7 separate regions of the Homo sapiens genome follow, and all the other regions are linked to region 5. The links are contacts of gene promoters, found by promoter capture Hi-C in blood cells and fetal thymus (Javierre and others, 2016). All regions are on one chromosome and are shown on one strand. Each heading gives the region's core, a stretch centred on a gene start or on the middle of the fragment in contact. The rest is flanking DNA. Distances are from core to core; before and after follow the strand shown. Region 1 overlaps LEKR1 (leucine, glutamate and lysine rich 1). Region 2 overlaps LEKR1 (leucine, glutamate and lysine rich 1). Region 3 has its middle 25 kb from the start of SSR3. Region 4 has its middle 29 kb from the start of TIPARP. Region 5 holds the start of LEKR1 (leucine, glutamate and lysine rich 1). Region 6 overlaps LEKR1 (leucine, glutamate and lysine rich 1). Region 7 has its middle 25 kb from the start of LINC02029.

Region 1 (2,781 bases), core at 256-2,755, 210 kb before region 5:
ATTTCCAGGAAACAAGTAAGATGGATGTCAGGCTGGTTGTTTTCAAAATTATATTTCCCTGCTTACAAACATAATAAAACCAACTGCAATAGACATACCCAAACAAAAGTTGTAGCAACAGAGGGCAATAATCCCTCAGACTGATATGCTTCAGAGGCAGATTTTCAGGACAGAGAGGAAGAGCCCATGATGACAAAGTATTCAACATTTACTTTTCTAAGTCAATAATCCAACTTAATTTAGATTTAATTAGCACTAATTAAACATACAAAATTTAACTAGCACTAATTAAATATACAAAAATTTCTCAATATATCTTCTCATTCTGTCAACTTTCTGGTATCTTCCTCACCACAGAGACTCCCAGTCTGAGCCCCCTTCTGCCCCATGGCCCAAGGCTAAGGTTCTCAGGTGGTCAGTTCACTCATCCTCCCTGCCAACCAAGCCTAGGTATAGTCCCTGTCCCTAAAAGCTTTCTTGATCCTCCCCATGTTTCCTGCTGGAGGTTGGAGAACCTCCCTTTACCCTCTTACTCTTTAAAAAAGACGTAAATATTCTAATTTATTATGTTCCCAAACTGAGAACTACTTTTTGGTAATTTACTTGCTGGTACTTTGGCTTCTCCATTCTCATAGAAGGAATTACCAGAGAAGTGTGTGCCATATTCTGTATACTGATTAAACATGCAAATGTAATAAATGCTTACCCTAAAACTAAGCAAGTCCCTCTTGCAAATAAACTATTTGTGCTTGCAAATACCATGTATTATTAAAATTTAATCTTAGAGTTTACATGAATCCGTCTTTGCTAGATTTGTTAATAAGCTTTTTTCTTTTCGTTTTTTGAGACAGGGTTTCAGGTTGTTGCCCAGGCTCGAGTACAGAAGCACGATCACGGCTCATTATAGCCTCAACCCCCGAGGCTCAAGCAGTCCTCCTTCCTCAGCTTCCCAAGTAGCTGGGACTACAGGCGTGTGCCACCATGCCCAGCTAATTTTTGTATTTTCTGTAAAAACAGGGTCTCCCTATGTTTCCCAGGCTGGTCTTGAACTCCAAGCTCAAGCAATCCTCCCATCTTGAGCTCCCAAAATGCTGGGTTATAGGCGTGAGCCACCACACTTGGCCTGAACTTTCTTATGTAAATGGAATTTCTTTCTTTCTTTTTTTAAAAATAGAGTTTACATTGGAAACATATTTTCAAAACACCAAAATGTTAAAAATAACCCATGATGCCAATGTTTTTAAAAAGTATGTAAGAAGTAAAACCCCTGTCTATCTCTTCCTACACTTCTAAGGTAACCACTGTTAATAGGAGGCAAATCCTTGATTTTTTCCTATCATCTTGGTAGCCCTGTAGAGATACACATGTACTTTCCTTTGTTTTTTAAACAAAAGAGATTCGAGATGCTAGGAGATTGTTGGGCAATAAACAATAAAAACAGCTGTTTTAATGAAAGCCAATACAGATCTATAGTCCTTTAGCCTTACTTTTGACATCCAAAAAGCTCTGAAAAGAAAAAAATGCTGTAGCTCATCACAGTTAGTGATAAAATCTGACTGAACTGATAGGAGGCTAATTACAGTCTTTATTCTATTTCATGTGAACATTCAGATGTTTCACTGCAGAAGTATTAATGTCATTGCATGGGGAGGCTGCCCTACATCTATGAGGACATACTGTACTTACTAACTTTCTAAAATTCAAAATAATTTTATATCTGAGCACAAAGTTTTCAGATAAGGGACTGTGGGCCTGTCTATATTGCATGTACCCTTCTTTAAATACAGTCTTTCTTTAGAGTCCTTGATAGTGTTCTCTTCCGGTTTTCTTCCCACCTCACCAGAAGTTCCTTTTCTGTCACCATCGCTAGATTCTACTCCTCTTCCCAGGCTCTAAAAGTTAAGAGTGCCTGTTCTCAACCCTTGCTCTATTACCTCATCCTCTGGGTGATCTCATTCAGTCCCAAGGGTTAAGTATCAGCTACATGTGGAATTGTCCAAAATCGACATCTCCAGCTTGCCTTCCCTATGGACATATTGCCTAGTCAACATCTCCACTTGGGTATCTAACAGGCATATTAAGATCAACATGTCCCAAATAAAATTCTTGATATTCCTCCCCAATTGTATTTCTTTTCTAGCATTTCCCATCTCAGCACTCTCTCAGTTGCTGAGATTCCAAGCTTTGGAGTTATCCTTGACTCCTTTTTATGCTTTCATATCATCCAATCAATCAGCAACCTCTATTGCCTTCACCCCTAAAATATATCCCAAATCTGGTGATTGGTCACCTCCTTCACAGCCTTGCTCTCTTTTTTGCCCTCTTCAACCTATTTTCTACACAGAAGTCAGTTATCCTCTAAAAATAAGTCAGATCATGTCAATTCCTTGTTCGAAATTCCTAGGTGGCTTTCTATCACACCTAGCAAAGTATCCAAAGACCTTATCATAGCCTACGAAGACTCCATGTGAACTGGCCCTTCAACCTTGGTTTCTATCACTATCCTTGCTCACTAAGCTCCAGCAGTGCTTGCTGACTTCCTTGTGGCTTCTTTAAGGTTCCCAGTATGTTCCTTGCTGCAGAGTCTTTCTATTACCTTTGCCTGGAGTGTTCTTTCCCTGGAATGCTCTTTGCCTCATTATTTCCTCAGAGTCCTCTTACTACCCCATCTAATATAGCACCCCTCCTTCAGAAAGTATCCCTTTTACCCTGATTTATTTTTTCCTTAGCATCTATAAAAACAACAAAACTCTTTACCTGTTAAATGAATGCATAAATAAG
Region 2 (2,876 bases), core at 52-2,551, 180 kb before region 5:
ATGTTAATGAAGTGATAATTATTCACTGAATTTTCAAGGAATTATGAAGTTCTTTATGACATTTCTAACAAAGTATATGGTGTTTTGAGTAAATTGTTATAAAAATATAAATTTGTATCTGTGATGGTAATTTTGCTTGATATTATGGTTACAGAAATGAGAAGGACTTTTATACCGCTTTGATTCCCTGCTGAGCCTCCATTCCTGACTCTAAGAAATCTTCAGTGAGACTCTTTAATGGGATAAAGCAGAAAGAATAATTATACGTGATGTTATATGCACTCATTGTTCTTGATTAGAATGGAATGGGCAGTGAGTAACGTATACAGGAATGATTATATGTGTGAAAAAGATAATCTAGATTCCAAAAATAAAAATCACACTTGTACAGTACAACCATGGGGCTGCTCACACATTGTTCAAGATCATAAAACAATCTTAGGCCATTGATAAAGAGAAAACAATCTTGTGTTGAAAAAAACTATGAAGAACCAACTCTGACTCACGTAGGACTTTTTGCTAGAAATTTAGAGGAATTGTAAGAAATAAAATATTTATTGTAAAGGCATAGTACATATTTTTCCATGTTATAAGTAGCTGAAAATGTATAGCTATTTAGGTATCTGACTTCTTTTTCTAGAACCAGTTCAAGAGATGTTGATGTTTTAGAATTATAGGAAACGACACAGATTTAGATTCTAAATTTAAATTTTACTAAGAATCTAATAAAGAAGATTACCATTAGAATCCAGGAGTTCTCATTGTACTCCTAGGTCTGATTTTTGAAAGTCAAAAGCTCTCTGGCCTGAAAGAAAAACTGGAGCTTCCCAGTTTTAAATTCCATGATCAGTTGTTTGATAGAAATTAAATTCATTCCCATCCATGCATGCATCCATCCCTACAGCAAATATTGAGAGCTGACTATGTGTCTGGCACTGTTTTATTCTCTGGGGATATAGTGGTTCTTTCTTTTCATTCCTTAGAAATATGTTAATACAACTCCCTCCGTTTTAGAAGAAATGAAGACCTGAGTGATAAATGACTATCTGAGGTGACATGATTCACAAGTGACAAAGCTAACTCAAGCTTATGCCAGCCAGCAGTATGTCATGCTGTCTTTGCTTTGCATATCTCAGATGGAGGTGTGGCTATTGACATTCTACCCTGCAATTTCACCAGATAGGTTTAAAATTAAAATTTTTGGAGTTGCCACAATTAGGACTTATTCACAATTAAGAGTATTTATTTTAAAAACTTTATTAAATTATTGGACCAAAAGGAAAATGAGAATCTTATTTCTTATGTACATGCGAATCCAGATTCCCTTAATTGCAGTTAAAAACATAACTGCAAACAAATGTCAAACCATAATGCCAAAATGACAGTTTTAAATTCTGTTTCACAAGTTGTTCTCTTAGAGATGTCTTCACATTGTCAATCAAAGAGATAATTTTGATTTTGCCACAACTCCTGCCTCTGTTAAAAGAAGTGAGTGTGTGATAACATAAGAAGCTTGGCAAGCCTCTTGTTCTGAGAGCTGTTGATGGATAGGAAATCAGAGAAAGAGGTGAGTCTTGGAGAAAAAACCTGATAAAATTTATTGTTTTCAATTATTACTTAGAACATTTCATAATGCTTTAAACTAACAGATTAGCATCTGTAATAGTATGTTTTAACACTGCTATAAAGACATACCTGAGACGGGGTAATTTACGAAGGAAAGAGGTTTAATTGACTCAAAGTTCAGCATGGCTAGGGGAGGCCTCAGGAAACTTATGGCAAATCATGGCAGAAGATGAAGAGGAAGCAAGGCACATTCTTTACAATGTAGCAGGAAGGAGATGTGCCAAGAAAAGGGGGGAAGAGCCCCTTATAAAACTGTTAGATGTCTTGAGAACTCACTCACTATTACAAGAACAGCATTGGGGAAACTGCCCCCACGATTCAATTACCTCCACCTATTCTCTCCCTTGACACCTGGAGATTATGGGAATTACAATTCAAGATGAGATTTGGGTGGGGACACAAAGCCTAACCATATCAGCATCCAAATGGAATCACTCCAAGGATTAATCTTTACAACTGTATGAGTAAAGCAGATAATAATGAATTCAACAGATATTTACTGAATATCTTACATGGCCGGTGCAGGGAATAAAAATTAATAAGACATGGTGCTTTAAGATGTTAGCAATCTAAAGAAAGATGAAAGAGAGGAAACTAATACTTTCTGAGTACCTACAACCTACCAGGCACAATATTTTAAAATTCTTAAGAAGATAGCTATTATTAAAATGCCCACGTTACAGATAGGGAAAAGAAGCCTTAATTGCCCAAGCTTAACAGTGGTCAAGTTGGGATTTACTCTATGTTTACCTAATTCTAAAGTCCATTCTTTTTAAACTAAGAATGGACTTTATCTTGCATCACTTCTTAATCCTTTTTCTTATCTAATACTAGATATAGCTAATCACTAGTCATTGCTTCTAGAATTTATGAAAATATAACAAGCCTCAATGAAATAAGTAAACAGTTTACATTTTTAGAATGCAGTTGTGAATTATTTTTATTCTATTTTCCATCTGAAGATATAGCTTTACTTCTTATTCTACCAAGGCACTAGAAAGCAGAGGACACCATCTCATATTTATTGAGTGAAGAGAAGAATACTGAGGGGGTTGGGGGTGAACAAGAAATTGAGAGGAGAGGAGAAGGGACACAAAAAGAGCGTTGCTTTCTGCAGGGCTGTGAGTCTCCTAAAGACTCAGTGTTACAACATGGTTCAGAAAGATGTCACACTGAGAAAGGATGACAAAACTTAGCCCTTCAAGACAAATACTTAGGGAATTGTGCAAACAGTAGAGAAGAGAACATGA
Region 3 (2,889 bases), core at 199-2,698, 250 kb after region 5:
TAATAATCTGACTCAGCATTGTGAGGACTTCTTTTCGTTCATTCAGTTGATTTTCTGTAGTTTGAAGGAGTTCTTAAATTCTGGTGCTACTGTCAAAGTGGCGAAGTGGCACGCAGTGGCTGGTCATGGGGTTTCTGCAGGATGTTGGATGTTTCTCCCGGTTAGGTTGTTCACAGTCCAGGTAATACCCAAGCTTGGTTCAAAACTACAGAAAATCTACTGAATGCGCTAAAGGAAGATTTGAGAAAATGAAGAATAGTTGACCAGGTGAAAAGACTAAATTTTATACAACTGTCAATTATTAAATTGATAGATTTGGTTGCAGTGTGTGTAGAAGGGTGTGGGTGGGGTGCTTTTTCCCTACTCCTCTGGTTTTCATGAGGAGAGATGTTGTGAGAATATAATCTGTCATAAAGTAGGCATCAAAATCTACGAGTTAAATCATTATTTAGTAAATGATACTGAAACAATTGAATACATGTTTAGGAAATAAATCAGAATAGATCCTCATTTTATAGTTAACATCGTACCAAATCCAATATGGAGTAAAAAGAACATAACAAATCAAATTTAAAATACCAAGATGAAAAAATATATGCCTTTGTAGTAGTTGTAAGTGAGAGGAAGTAAAAAGGGATCGGGGGTAGTTTCTGAACTTGAAAGTGTTGGAAGAAATGTAAAAAAGAAAAAAATAGTGCACTTGACCACACAAACATTATAAATTTCTATAAGTGTTTTAGTCTTTTAATTAAAACATTCTCAATAAACTTAGAATAACTTTTGCATCAATATGAAAAACAGCTTATTATGTAAAATGCTCATGCATATGAATTGAAATCAGCAAAAACATAATTTCTAAACATCTACCCCAGGCCAGGTCTGTGCTGGATACTTTGCAAACATTCAGTTAAAAAAACACTTCAAGGTGGATGTGTCCAGTCAACCCAGGTAGAAACTCAGGGTCAGAGTTATATAGGGGTGTGCATAGTAATTCACCTAATGGAGCATCTTTTGTTTTTTCCTACGAAATAACTGTTTCTTCCTAGCCCCACCGCAGCCAGGTTCATAATTGAACCCTGATTCCCTGCAGGTACTTTTTCCCTGTGTTCAAGGGAGTCTGGCCTCCTCCCCAGACCAGGAAGTGGGTTCTGAATCGTCTCAATGTGGAATGGAAGGTGTGATTCCAGTGATTAGGAGTGGATATGTGGCAAATTCTGGCTCACAAGAGAGGGAGAAATCATCTCAGGGGCTTTGGAAAATAATTTTTTGCCCTTATAAACAGACAGTGCCTTTTTTTGTTTCTGGATGCTGTTGTGTGTAAGTGTGATACATGGAAGTCTTCACCTGAACACAGGGTGATGGAGGATGGAGGAGTGGCTATCTGAAGGAAATCAGAGTTTGATTATGAACCTGGCTGAGGTGGGGCTGGGAAGAAATAGCTGTCTCATAGGCAAAAACATAAGGTGCCTCATTAGATAAGTGACTAGGCATGCCTCTACACATCTCTGACCCTCCGTTTCTACCTGGATCAACTAGAAATGTCCAACTTATAGCACGTTTTTTTTTTTTAACTGAATGTTTGCAAGTGCATGATCTCATGATCAAGTGGGTGGGGCAGAGCCACACCATCTCAGGGAAAAAGGTCTGAGCCCTAATCATACTCATCCCTTCCCCCATGCAGCTCTATTTAGGGACTTCCTCTTTTGGGAGATAGTACATTTCCTTAATATTTAGTCCTGTGGAAACTGGGTGTTCCATTGCTCACTGCCAAAGGCCTAAATAGTGCAAGTAAATTGAAGAACTGAGGTTTGAACCCATAGAACACACAATTCTAAATGGGAATATAAACAATTAACTAACACTTGGAAAAGAAGTTTCGGCAATTCTAAATGGGAATATAACCAATTAATTAACATATGGAAAAGTTTCAGCCTCATTAGTAAGCAAAGAAAGGTAAATTAAGCAAGATTGAGAATCTGTTTTTTAAAAACTACTACATGACAAAAGATTTTTTTGATGGTGAGTACTGCCGTACTTTGCTGGCATTTGAGAATGTAAACTCCCGTAGCTCTTTAAAAATAATAACAGCAGCTATCATTTATCCAGTGCTTACTACATGGCAAGCAGTATGCAAAGCAAGCAAATGGATTTAACCCTTATTCCAGTGAAATGAGTATTATTATTATCTGCAGTTTAAGGATAAGGATTAAAGAGATCCACTGACTTGCTGAGGTCTCACTGGTACAAAGGACCCTTTGTGGAAAGACGATTCCATAAATGAACCAAACATGTGCCAATAGCGCTGGTCAAGTAGAGGCCCCCCTCAAAAAATATTTTTGAGAAAAAAATTTTAAATAGAATTTGCAATTTCATGTTAAAAAATAAAAACATTAAAGTAGATACCACAGGGAAACATTCATTATGAGCCATCCTCACAACCGATTTTCAGCTAGGTGTTGTATTTATTTGAGTTTCCTAAATGAGTGTGTGGGTAGCCCCACACACTTATAGTTGCTGAAGGCCTCTAAGTGTCTCTCTCCAGCCCAGGGAGCTGTGATTCAACCTGATGTGACTCCAAAGCCTGTGCTCATCGCAGACCACAGGGAATCGACTTAGAAAGTAATTTAGCAAATTAAATCAATAGCCTCAAAAACGTTCATATTTCTTAATCTATTAAATATTGTGACAAATTGTAAAAGCTTTAAGAATAAATACACGAAAGGCAGAGTTCCTTACGATAGTAAAGATCAGAAATTAATACAAATGTTTAACCATAGGGACCTCATTAAATTATGTAATGCAAACATTAAAAACAATCTTTATGAGGACATTATAATAAAGTGGGAAGCTGTATTATACAATGTCAAGTAGGAAAAAAATTGACCTATA
Region 4 (2,725 bases), core at 89-2,588, 180 kb after region 5:
CCCAAAGCTCAGTGACTTATAACTTGTAATAACAAAGGTTTCTTTTTTGCTATTTTAGATCTTTATTGTATGCTGGCTCTGATTTTAGTCTATATTTTCTTTACTATGTGACTTTGAGGAATGGAGCAATAGCTGTCTGGAACATTGCAGGTCATTATGGTAGAGGGAAAAGAGAAACATGACAAATGGTGTATTGGCTCTTCAGTCTTCTTCCTCAAAATGTCATGTGTCACATTCACTCATATTTCATTGGTTAAATCAAATCTCATGGCCTAGGCTGACATCAGTGGGGTTGGGAAGTCTAATGCTCCCCCAGGGAGAAACACCAAATATTTGTGAACAATAAAGTAGTCTACTATACTGTACTAAGCACTCAAATATTTTCTCCTTTTGTCTTCATAACAGCCTTCTAGAAATAGGTACTATTATTGTTTTATTTTAGAGATGAATAAACTAAGGCTCAGAGAGTAACCTGGCAAAAGTCAAACAATATGAAATGGTAAGGCGTGGTCCCAGATTGTCTGACCCTACTGTAATTGTATTATACTGCCATCAAATGAGAAAAGGAAAAGAAAGGAGCTGGGAAGGAATGAGCAGAAAGAAAGGAAAGGAAGCAAGATATTAAAAATAATTGCAAACTACTTCTTAAGGAAATCAGATGCAGTGATAAGAAAGGGGTAAGGAAAAGTAAATGGGAAAGATGAGAGAAAGGAAAATGTTCTTTTATCTTATTGCTTGCCAGTCCACCTGCATATATCCATCCTGCATCACATGCCTTTATCTTATGCCATCCCAAGAAAGCCCAGCTCCTGTCTCTCCACATTCCAAAGTCTCTAACCCCATGACCTACCTCGAGGTTCCCCAGAGTCCTAGTCTATTTTAATTGATTGTTCTTTTTATACTGTGCAAAAAAGTGAGTTAAACTTATAAATTTAGCATTGACAAAAAACATTTCTATTCTTTATACCTGGCATGTTATAAAAATGCAAACACTTGATACTTTTCTATTGTTGCCTTTGGAAACATGCATATTAGTGATTTGTATCTGCCCTTTGAATAAAAACCAGTATCCAAAGTTTTCTGAAGCAATTCTGTGAGAACGGAAGGTGAATATAGCTCATTAATATAACTTTAAAATTACATTAAAGTGGGAAAAGAAACTGGAAAATATCACTAGCGTTAACGAAAAAGCTTAAAATCTGTGTTCTATAAAATGCTCATACAAAATGAGCTGAGGAAAGAGATGCCTCTTCCAAGAGGAACTAACCAGTAAACAAATACATGGAAAGGATTTCATCCTCACTAGTGGTAAAAGAAATGCAAATTAAAACAAAAATGAGGACTATTTTGTGTTTATTAAAGGGGCACACAACTCTTTCAATGTCACCACTTGATTATGAGTTGTTTTTTCAGTGAAATTATTATAATCTTAAAGTGTTGTTGATACTTCTTGTAGGAACTATGTGTAACATATAACAAGCTTGTATGGGTTAAATCATACTGTTTAAGCCTCTACTTTCCCGAAAATGAACCATGAGCTTGTCCCAGCATTCCAGTGGGGCTGCTGCAGTGGCTGGATACATTTCTGATGGAGAAATGTCTATCTCAAATGTAAAAGGTGGGAGGCTGTGGGTGGAACCTTCAGAGTTCCTTAGTCACTAGAAGAAATAAAAACCTCCTCATATCCAGGGTTTTGACCTTTGATCCTACCTCTTAGAATAGATTCTGAACAAGTAATTCGTAAGGGAAAAAAAGCCAAATAGACAAAGATTCGCTGCATTATTTCTTATAGAAAAGATTATGAAATGTATGTTGGACAACAGGAAAATAATGTAAAAGATGATGTAGCTATTAAAATGTAGATTACAAGGACTACACAGCAACATGGAACATGCTTCTGAAATTGTATTAATTGAAAATGGCAGAAGGCACCCACTGTGATTATCCACAATGGCTAGAAAAGATCAGGGCCAAACAAAAAGTTGGATTTGCTGAGGTGACAAGATTGTAGGCAAAAGTTTTCTTTCAGTTATTTAGATTTATTGTGTAATACAGACAGAATATTTATGTAATTAGAATTTTATTTTCAGAGTAAAAGAGAAATAGGATACTGTGACCCTTTCCTACTCTTATTGGAGGCTTCAGGATTTCACTATAATGCAAAGCTCCAAATCAAGCTCAGTTTTGGTATTTTCTGATAAATATTAGAAGCTCACTCCTAATTTGAAATGGTCAGCCTTTTTCATAGGATGGTTTATGTGTAGATAAGTAGCTCTTACATTAATCCAATTAACTTGGAAGATTGTAGGCAGGAATGTACACCAATCATAGTGTCCACTTGTTAAATTTTTTAAATTACAGGACAAAGCATAGGAGAAAATGGCATTTTAAAATTATGGTATTCACATTTAAAAAATACTCAATATATTTTTGTTTTCAACCATGTTTCAGGTGATGAATCTCTACATTTAAGGCAGTGGATTTAGCTGTAAATCTGAAACAAGAAGTGCACAATTTCACCTGTGTTTCCAGACTTCTGGATGCTCTTGTAGTGTTTTTATTGTACTTTTTTCAGATCAACAATTGGACCCATTGCATTATTTTTAGAGATGCTTCACCTGAAAGGCGGTCTGGAGGTTGAAGAAAAAAATATTCAGCATATTATTTGGAAATATAACTAAAATATTGTTTAAAACAAATTCATCCTATGTATCCTCACTATTTT
Region 5 (2,995 bases), core at 435-2,934:
CTGATGTTTGGCAGATTGTCATAATCATGTGGCAAGAGCCCAGAAGGCTCATTATTCTCATTTCTGTCATTTAATGGTGGATTTGCCATCAGTAAAATGAAATAGTAACTTCAACTCTATTGGGAGAATTTTCCAAAAAATTACCATCTAAACATCCTTTTAAAATTTCACCCATAAAGTTATCTGAGAGCACGGATCTAAATGACAGTATAAACAAAGCACCAGTAGAACAGTTTTTGTGTAGTGCCTTCATTGTCTGTGAATCTATTCCAACTTTATGGCCTTAGCATAAGAAGGGGAGGAATTGGCAGGTTCTGATTATCGGGGGGAAACTAAAAATTAAAAGTCCTGCCAACCCAGAAAATGCTCCACAATGCAGAAAGACAACAATTTTATTAGGCATTCAACTAGACTTTGATGCACATCACGGCTAATCTGCTAATGAGGTTACAAAGAGAGAAGGAAATCCCTCTTTTATACAGCCAAGGAGACACAATCCATTACACATTCTCAAGGAAACTGGTAACGTGTCCTCATGTAAGAGGGCTTAACATAGTGTTCTATACATTCTTTTATATTTCCTCTTTAATTCATCTGGTAATTGGGGTAACCACCTGTGTTAGCTAACGGCTTTCCTCCTAAGTAATGCACAGCTCCATAACGAAACAGGTGTTTACAATTAGGAATAACGCACCTAGGTTAAACTCCCAAAGTGACAAGGAGACTGGGGCCCTATCTTCCTTGATGTTTACATTTTAAAGAAATGGCTTCCAGGTCCTCAAGAAAAGCATTCCTAGGTCTTTAAAAACATTTGCATACATATTAAATAGAGGAAGCATTCACAAATACTAAGTTTCTCAAGAAAAAAGAAGGGTCTTTCCCTTTTGGCAACAGGGAAAATCTGTAATTTTTTAAATTTAGTCTTACATAGTTTTGCGTGTGTTATCAAACAAGTCCCTTTAATCCTTTCTCATTGCACGTATGTGGACCGCACTTTGGCAAGAGGTGCAGTGATAAGTGGCTGCAGCTACGTGGGTGTTTGTGAACCTCCTCTCTAACAAGATCACCGAAAAGACATTTTTTAAAATGCAGACACGTCCTTGTTCGTTTCCAATTCCGTTTCTCACACTAGTGTCACGTCAGGCCATTAACTCACGTTCAGCTTTCAAGCCCTTACGTAAAGAACCATTCCCATGGCGTGAATCACCCACAACGAGCAGGTCAGGGGCAGGTGAAGGCGGGAGTTCACATCCTAAGACTTTCCTGAAGCGGCAGGCTCTTCCACACAGAAACCAACCGCAAGGCCAGACAAAACTGCTGGAATGGCTTTCAAATCTGTCCCTTTCTAACCCCGTTCCCCCTGGACCTGCAGTGGCCGGAAGAGGAGGAGGAGGAGGGTGCGGGGGTGAGGAAGCAGAGCCGCGCGTTCCCCGGGGCTGGGAGGAAGGCGGACCGCGCCTGGGCCCCGCGGGCTGGCAGACACCAGGAAGGGGCCGCAGAGGAGCGTGGTGGCGGAGTCCAGACCCGGGGCCTCGTGCTCTCGCTGGGGCGCCGCGGCTCAGCTTTCTGGCTCTCTCCCCGGGTGCGAGCACGCCTCCACTCCGGAACTGCATTTGGAGGACCGGGTCATCCCAGGCTGAGGAAAGCCATCGTCCCTCACCTCGACTTCGACTAGGACGGGTGTGAAACGGCTTTCCCGGTCTCCCGGGCGACCGCGCCGCCAGTCGGCTGGACGTCAGGGCGCGGCGACGTCACGGCCCACGTCTGTCGTCAACGCTCCCCTGCACCGCCCAGGGTCTCACGCGCCGGGCGGAAGTGGGAAAACTGGTGGTGGGGCTCGGAAGGCTGGGCTAGTCTTACGCGGAATGCTGTGAGAGGGAGGGAAGGGGATCGAGGGATGAGGTGGGCGAGAGTGGGTCGGGTGCTTGGTAGCGACTGCTGAGATGGAGGGAGCTGTCCCAGCCTCGTGGGGGGTTGGAGAGAGGCACTGCCGGGAGTCGGGAGTCGGGAGCCTATAGCCCTACCTATCACCCCTTGCTCTGGGGCCTATGTGGTAGACACAGCAGTGAGCAGTTACTGTTCTTGAGCAGAGGAAAAAGAGATGCCTGTAGAGGTCATGGGTGTAAAGGGAAGTTCTGGTTTCAGTCATTACAGCCAGGACAAATTAATTGGGAAGGCGTTGGTGACATTTCCATTCTAGTCCAAAGTAGTGAAGATTAAGGGCTTAGTTCAAAAAGTATTTTGAGACCTCCTAGTCTACACTTTATTTATCGCAGGCTACCCACCCTTACACGTGACTAACTTCCCTTTGTTCATACATTCATTCATAAAACAAGTATTTATAGACCTACTACGCGACAAGCAGAGCAGCATACCGAGATAGGGTGATACTCTGTGACTGGTCAAGGCAGGAGCAGCCATTGGTGTAATTAGCAGGTGACTCATTCGTAGTCCAGATCTTGCCTTTCTGAGGATTATATAAGGTCGAAGTACAGTTCTTCCAAGAACCAAAGAAAACATCGATGGCTCTGTAGCAGGCAAAGAGACTGGTTTGCTATTGAATAAAATAAGATTAAGTAAATACAAAGAAAATTAATTGAACCTATAGATTTAGAGAAGTGATTAAATGACGCAGAGCAGTATCGGTACACCAAACTGCTTATTGATAACTACTAATTAATGACACCAGGAAGTACTGAACACTAGTGCCTTGTTCCTTGGCACTAAAAAGTCTAGTAGATGTGGCTGGGCGCGGTGGCTCGGGCCTGTAATTCCAGCACTTTGGGAGGCCAAGGCGGGCAGATCACAAGGTCAGGAGATCGAGATCATCCTGGCTAACACGGTGAAACCCCGTCTCTACTAAAAATACAAAAAAGTAGCCGGGCGTGGTGGCGGGCGCCTGTAGTCCCAGCTACTTGGGCTACTCGGGAGGCTGAGGCAGGAGAATGGCGTGAACCTGGGAGGCAGAGCTTACCCTGAGCCGAGATAATGCCAC
Region 6 (2,914 bases), core at 235-2,734, 190 kb before region 5:
CTGCACAGCAAAAGAAACTACCATCAGAGTGAACAGGCAACCTATAAAATGGGAGAAAATTTTCACAACCTACTCATCTGACAAAGGGCTAATATCCAGAATCTACAATGAACTCCAACAAATTTACAAGAAAAAAACAAACAACCCCATCAAAAAGTGGGTGAAGGATATGAACAGACACTTCTCAAAAGAAGACATTTATGCAGCCAAAAGACACATGAAAAAATGCTCATCATCACTGGCCATCAGAGAAATGCAAATCAAAACCACAATGAGATACCATCTCCCACCAGTTAGAATGGCAATCATTAAAAAGTCAGGAAACAACAGGTGCTGGAGAGGATGTGGAGAAATAGGAACCCTTTTACACTGTTGGTGGGACTGTAAACTAGTTCAACCATTGTGGAAGTCAGTGTGGCGATTCCTCAGGGATCTAGAACTAGAAATACCATTTGACCCAGCAATCCCATTACTGGGTATATACCCAAAGGACCATAAATCATGCTGCTATAAAGACACATGCACACGTATGTTTACTGCGGCATTATTCACAATAGCAAAGACATGGAACCAACCCAAATGTCCAACAATGATAGACTGGATTAAGAAAATGTGGCACATATACACCATGGAATACTATGCAGCCATAAAAAATGATGAGTTCATGTCCTTTGTAGGTACATGGATGAAATTGGAAATCATCATTCTCAGTAAACTATCGCAAGGACAAAAAACCAAACACCGCGTGTTCTCACTCATAGATGGCAATTGAACAACGAGAACACATGGACACAGGAAGGGGAACATCACACTCTGGGGACTGATGTAGGGTGGGGGGAGGGGGGAGGGATAGCATTAGGAGATATACCCAATGCTAAATGACGAGTTAATGGGTGCAGCACACCAGCATGGCACATGTATACATATGTAACTAACCTGCACATTGTGCACATGTACCCTAAAACTTAAAGTATAATAATAATAATAATAATAATAATAATAATAATAATAAAAGAAAATCAGCAGGGTCCCTTTGATGAAGTTGAAATAAAATATTCAGGGAAGAAAAGGTGATGGCTGATGGCTTGAATGAGCTGAATGTTCTGTTTTACTCGAGTTAGAAAGCAAGATCTTGTTGCCCCTGAACTATTCTTTGAACTACTGTAGGTAAAGAGAGAAAACAAGGAAGGAATAAATATATGGACAGTGGGAAAGAACAAGCACTGTAGACAAAAGGGAGAAGAATGATTGACTATTACTAGCTTTGTTTTTAATTTGCACAATCTGAGAAAAAGAAGCAGAGTGATGAGTTTTCACATGGGATTTCAAACACTTAGGAAAGCTGCAGTGGGATGCTAAGAGCCATCTGAATGTGTTGACGTGTTAGCACAGAGAAATGAGATTACTGGTTCCTTCATGATCTGATTAGTTTGAACAAAATTATGAGCCCATAAACACAACGATTTGCTTAAGGGGTACATTATTTGCCTTTCAGTAGGTGCATTCATGCCAAATTGCCATGTTTTTATTTTTAAATGTTGATAGGAGCTGATAATTTAAAATATTTTAGATGACAGGAGTTATGTTTGAGCAAAATAAATAAATTTGTTGATGGTGTACATATAAAGCATGAACCACTTTATACAATAACTAATAGTAATTTTGATAAGAAGAAAATTATGATTTCTAAAAAAGCATGAATAATATTAACTTAAGAATTACACAAAGTAAAATCAATTATTATCTTTGTACACATCCCAGGTTTTAATTATTTTTGGTTTTTATTTATCTATATCCTCTTCTAGCTGAAACTCCATCTCCTTGGTGAAGGCCACCGGATGACTCCAGAGCATTCAGAGCATTGTTTTTAAATTTCTTTTGTATTTGTTGTTGAAATGCATAATTAGTACTTTATAAAATCTGTATTTAATACCAATATGCAAAATACTGCCTTTTCACTATTTTCCAAGCGAGGTCTTTGTGGTTGACTTTGTTATTATCATTTTTCTTATTGAACATGGAGCCAAACACCATGTTATAATATGACCATTTATTACTCAATGATACCTTTAAAACCAATGGGAATTTTAGATGCCAAAGTAGGAATCAAATAATTTGCTTATATTTGATATGCATATATAATTTTTAAAGATATGGCTCCTAAAATAAATTATTGTACTATTTTACAAAACTTAAAAATGAATACTGATTGCAAATTATTACAGTACTTTAGATTATTTCTGAAATAGCTACTGAATAAATAATAAAAGCAGATGATTATTCAAAACAGAATTTGCAGTTAAAAAATGAATGCTAAGGAATCAGAATATGTAGGCTGCAGGTCAAATCCTGTCAAGAACTATGTGAACTTAGGTTGGAAGGAGAGAATGTTCACTGAGTAAATGAATACAAGCTAGGGTGGTATGGTATAGGACACTTTCTATATATTAACTCTTTTAATTCTTACAACTCTAAGAATAACATAGAATAATAGAAGTATTACTCCCACTGTCTCGATTAAGAGATAGGCTCAGAGAAGTAAGTAACTTCACCAAGATCATAGAGCAACTACAAGGTGGAAACAATGTGTATACTCAGGTGTTGCCGGTGAACTCTATAGCTCAGTGTGTTTAGTTTTTTTTTCATGTAAGCTGTCCCCCCAACCCCTACATCTGTACAGCATAGTGGGCTCAGGGCGTGGTCTTGGTATTTATTTAGTTTCAAAATATTTAAGGATTGTCCAGATAACTTTCTGCTAACGATTTCTAATTTTATTTCATTGTGGTCAGAGAAAATATTTGTATGATGTGAATCCTTTTAAACTTATTGAGACTTATTTATAAGCCAAAATATGGTCGATTTTGGTAAGATGTTCATGTGCACTTGAGAAGAATGTGTATTCTGCTGTCAAATT
Region 7 (2,750 bases), core at 1-2,500, 230 kb before region 5:
CACTCACACCCAGCCCAACTTGTAACATTTCTAGGCCTTTGCCATGTGCACTGAAGGGGAAGAACAGAGTGGAGAGGCACTGCATGTCTTTGGCCAGTGGCGATGGTAAACACAATCTCACTTGAAATTTATACAGTTGTCCCTTGGTATCCTTGAGAGATTGGTTCCAAGACTCTCACAGATACCATGTTCAAGTCCCTTATATAAAATGGCATAGAATCTGCATATAATGTACATACTTACTGCCGTATACTTTAAATCATCTCCAGATTTACTTAAGATACCTAATACAATGTAAATGCTATGTGAATACTTGTTATACTGCATTTAAAAACTTTGTCTTTTAAAAATTAATGCATTGTTATTTTTTATTGTTTATTTCTTTTAATCACTGGTTGGTTGAATCCATGATATGGAACCCACAGATACAGAGGGCTGACTGTAGTAGAAAATCTCACTTCAGAATCTGTAACTACAACCTGACCCTCACCTGGCTTTTTGTATGAATTTATATCCCCCACATATGAAAAATCAAAAAAGAATTTTAATTGAAGTGGTCTCAGAATGTTTGTATAATTAACTGGGAGGGACAAATGCAAATCTTCTCTGGAAAAATGCAATCTCAATTAGGTCTCAAAGAATTCTTATAGATAAGGTTCCAAGGGACACAACTTCACATTGAAACACATATACACATAGTCACCTTTCCTTGAGAAAGATCTAGCCCGCCTTGAGGATGAGCACGGGAAAACAAAGCACCATGAATGAGAACCATCAAAAACAATAAACAGTAAAATCAGATCCATAAAGATTATTAGACTCGGAATATAAAATAGCAAGTTTGATGTGTTTAAAGAAATGAAAAGTTTACAAGCAAGGAATAATAGTTTTTACAAAATCTAGCACATTGAAGAAAATCAAATAAAGCTTTTGGAAAGAAATAATTGCTTTAGGCAGTAAGATTATGAGGCCAGATGCAGGAAGGTCTGAGATGTGAGAAAAAATTGTGGACAAATAAATCAAAAAATACATTGGGTAAAGCTAAATAAACATTGGCTACATGTAAAAATAATAATAATATCTAATTTGTGAGATTAAAAAACAATATAGAATCCAAATACTAGCCAAAGTATAATACAAAATGGAAGAAGATGAAAAATTATAAAGTATTCTATGGTTCCTGCATTGCTTGGGTACAGCATCAAGAAATTAACTTTAAGCAAGCACGTTAACATGTCTATGGTAACTCCTAAAATTAAAATAGAGATAATTGCTTCCAAAGAAGCAGAAGGTAGAGGAGGTGGGGAGAGGAATAAGCAAAAGAAGAAAACAAAAAAGATGGCAAGAGACAGGGCAGAAAGCTAGAAAAATAGAAAGCACATAAGAAGGTAGAAATAAATCAAAGCAAAAAGAACAAAGATAGAGTTTTAAGATCCTCTGCATGATAACAAAACAATGGGAGTTTATACACACTCTAAAATCATGAGTGTTAATTTCATACTGCTACTAACAGTGAATAAGTAGCGTAGATGTCCTTTGGGAATAAAAGGCTTTATTCCATAAAAGAAGCTTTAAACTTTTGAAGGCCTGTCTCTCAAAAATGGACGTTTATAGACAGTTTTCAAGAGCGCTCTTACGGTTACTAGATTTAGAACATGTTTTTATTCTTGTAAAATTTGGCCTTTGACTTTATCTGAGAATTTTATCTTGTGAACTGCTGTGTTGTTTGTTAGTTCTCCTTCTCCTTTCACTCCTATATTAATACTTTTTCTCCTTTGTATTTAGGAGGACCTGGTATTTTTAAGGCTAGAGATGGAATACCATTTTTTTTTTAAAGAAATGAAGCAGAAAGTTCAAGACCTCAAGACTTAATATAGAAAGTGATATTTTAAAAAAGGAATGCGGTCTATAATATCGTGCTTCGACAGGATGCTAAATAGCTTCCTAAAGGATCCTTATAAGATTCCACAGTGGATCCTTTCCATGGGTTTTTTTTTTCTTGGTCCTACGTGCTACTTCTTTATTTTGTTCTGTAATGCTTTTTGCCATAGTTTCTGAGTTCTTTGTTTGTTTGTTTGGTCACCAAAAGGACACAGAGATGTCTTCAAATTTGCTCAGGGTTGAGCAGCATATTCCTTCTCAGAGGCACAACTGGAGGGCAAGATGATGTGCATAGCCTCTAGTCCAGTTCCCAGTTTATTTGTGCCTATTTGCCTAATCCAGGCTTTGCCACTTCTTACCTGTGTCAGTTTGAGTGAATTGCTAACTTTTCTATAGCTCTGTTTTCTTATCTGTAAAAGGAAACCAGTAAACATACCAACACCACATGGTTCTTTGAGGTCTAAAAGTGTTTAAAGCCCTGAGCACCATACATTGCCCATCATAAATAATACCTGTCAGCTCCTATAATGTTATTGTTACTATACTGCTGCTGCTGCTGCTACTACTGTGGTGTACCTGGAATCTTCCAACATAGCCAACTTCTCTATACATGCTGCTTAGTCTTCTGACATCATTGCTGCACAGAGAGAATTCCACGTCCCAGGATCTAACACCACTGCTCATCTCTCCCTCCCCACCACCACTCACACAAACTTTTTTAGCCTTTTTTTCAGACTTGCCATCTTAGAATGTTCCCAGCAAAGTGGCCTTCGGTGCCTTGAGGGGCAGCACCCAGTTGGCACAGCAATGAAGGTCCAGTTTCTTTTTATGATTATTATTTGTTTGTTTTGTTTTTTTGAGATGGAGTC

What was found. Contacts are between HindIII fragments. The CHiCAGO score rates a contact against its expected background, and 5 or more counts as called.
Region 1: a fragment that was not itself captured here is called in contact with the fragment with the promoter of LEKR1 in region 5 in 1 of 17 cell types (total B cells); the score reaches 8.4 in total B cells.
Region 2: a contact is called between a fragment that was not itself captured here and the fragment with the promoter of LEKR1 in region 5, in 1 of 17 cell types (total B cells). The highest score is 5.5, in total B cells.
Region 3: a fragment that was not itself captured here is called in contact with the fragment with the promoter of LEKR1 in region 5 in 3 of 17 cell types (non-activated CD4 T cells, monocytes and M2 macrophages); the score reaches 7.4 in non-activated CD4 T cells.
Region 4: a fragment that was not itself captured here is called in contact with the fragment with the promoter of LEKR1 in region 5 in 1 of 17 cell types (non-activated CD4 T cells); the score reaches 5.3 in non-activated CD4 T cells.
Region 6: a contact is called between a fragment that was not itself captured here and the fragment with the promoter of LEKR1 in region 5, in 1 of 17 cell types (total B cells). The highest score is 7.8, in total B cells.
Region 7: a contact is called between a fragment that was not itself captured here and the fragment with the promoter of LEKR1 in region 5, in 10 of 17 cell types (total B cells, non-activated CD4 T cells, naive B cells and 7 more). The highest score is 12.8, in total B cells.

The regions. Positions count from the first base shown.
Region 1 is chr3:157,037,682-157,040,462 of GRCh38, reverse strand. The region is part of intron 12 of LEKR1 (leucine, glutamate and lysine rich 1); the gene reads right to left. Among named protein-coding and RNA genes, the nearest start is that of LINC02029, 43 kb to the left of the region's middle. The HindIII fragment of the contact is 1,358 bases long and covers 827-2,184 here.
Region 2 is chr3:156,999,945-157,002,820 of GRCh38, reverse strand. All of the region lies in intron 9 of LEKR1 (leucine, glutamate and lysine rich 1), which reads right to left. Among named protein-coding and RNA genes, the nearest start is that of LINC02029, 80 kb to the left of the region's middle. The HindIII fragment of the contact is 426 bases long and covers 1,089-1,514 here.
Region 3 is chr3:156,578,313-156,581,201 of GRCh38, reverse strand. No RefSeq gene overlaps it. Among named protein-coding and RNA genes, the nearest start is that of SSR3, 25 kb to the right of the region's middle. The HindIII fragment of the contact is 2,506 bases long and covers 196-2,701 here.
Region 4 is chr3:156,644,423-156,647,147 of GRCh38, reverse strand. No RefSeq gene overlaps it. Among named protein-coding and RNA genes, the nearest start is that of TIPARP, 29 kb to the left of the region's middle. The HindIII fragment of the contact is 289 bases long and covers 1,194-1,482 here.
Region 5 is chr3:156,825,042-156,828,036 of GRCh38, reverse strand. It overlaps LEKR1 (leucine, glutamate and lysine rich 1), which reads right to left and starts at 1,684. Exons shown (of 13, transcript NM_001004316.3): 1 at 1,661-1,684. RefSeq lists a silencer at 543-837 and an enhancer at 1,152-1,211. The HindIII fragment of the contact is 11,302 bases long and covers 1-2,995 here.
Region 6 is chr3:157,018,354-157,021,267 of GRCh38, reverse strand. All of the region lies in intron 10 of LEKR1 (leucine, glutamate and lysine rich 1), which reads right to left. Among named protein-coding and RNA genes, the nearest start is that of LINC02029, 62 kb to the left of the region's middle. The HindIII fragment of the contact is 7,622 bases long and covers 1-2,914 here.
Region 7 is chr3:157,055,868-157,058,617 of GRCh38, reverse strand. No RefSeq gene overlaps it. Among named protein-coding and RNA genes, the nearest start is that of LINC02029, 25 kb to the left of the region's middle. The HindIII fragment of the contact is 642 bases long and covers 930-1,571 here.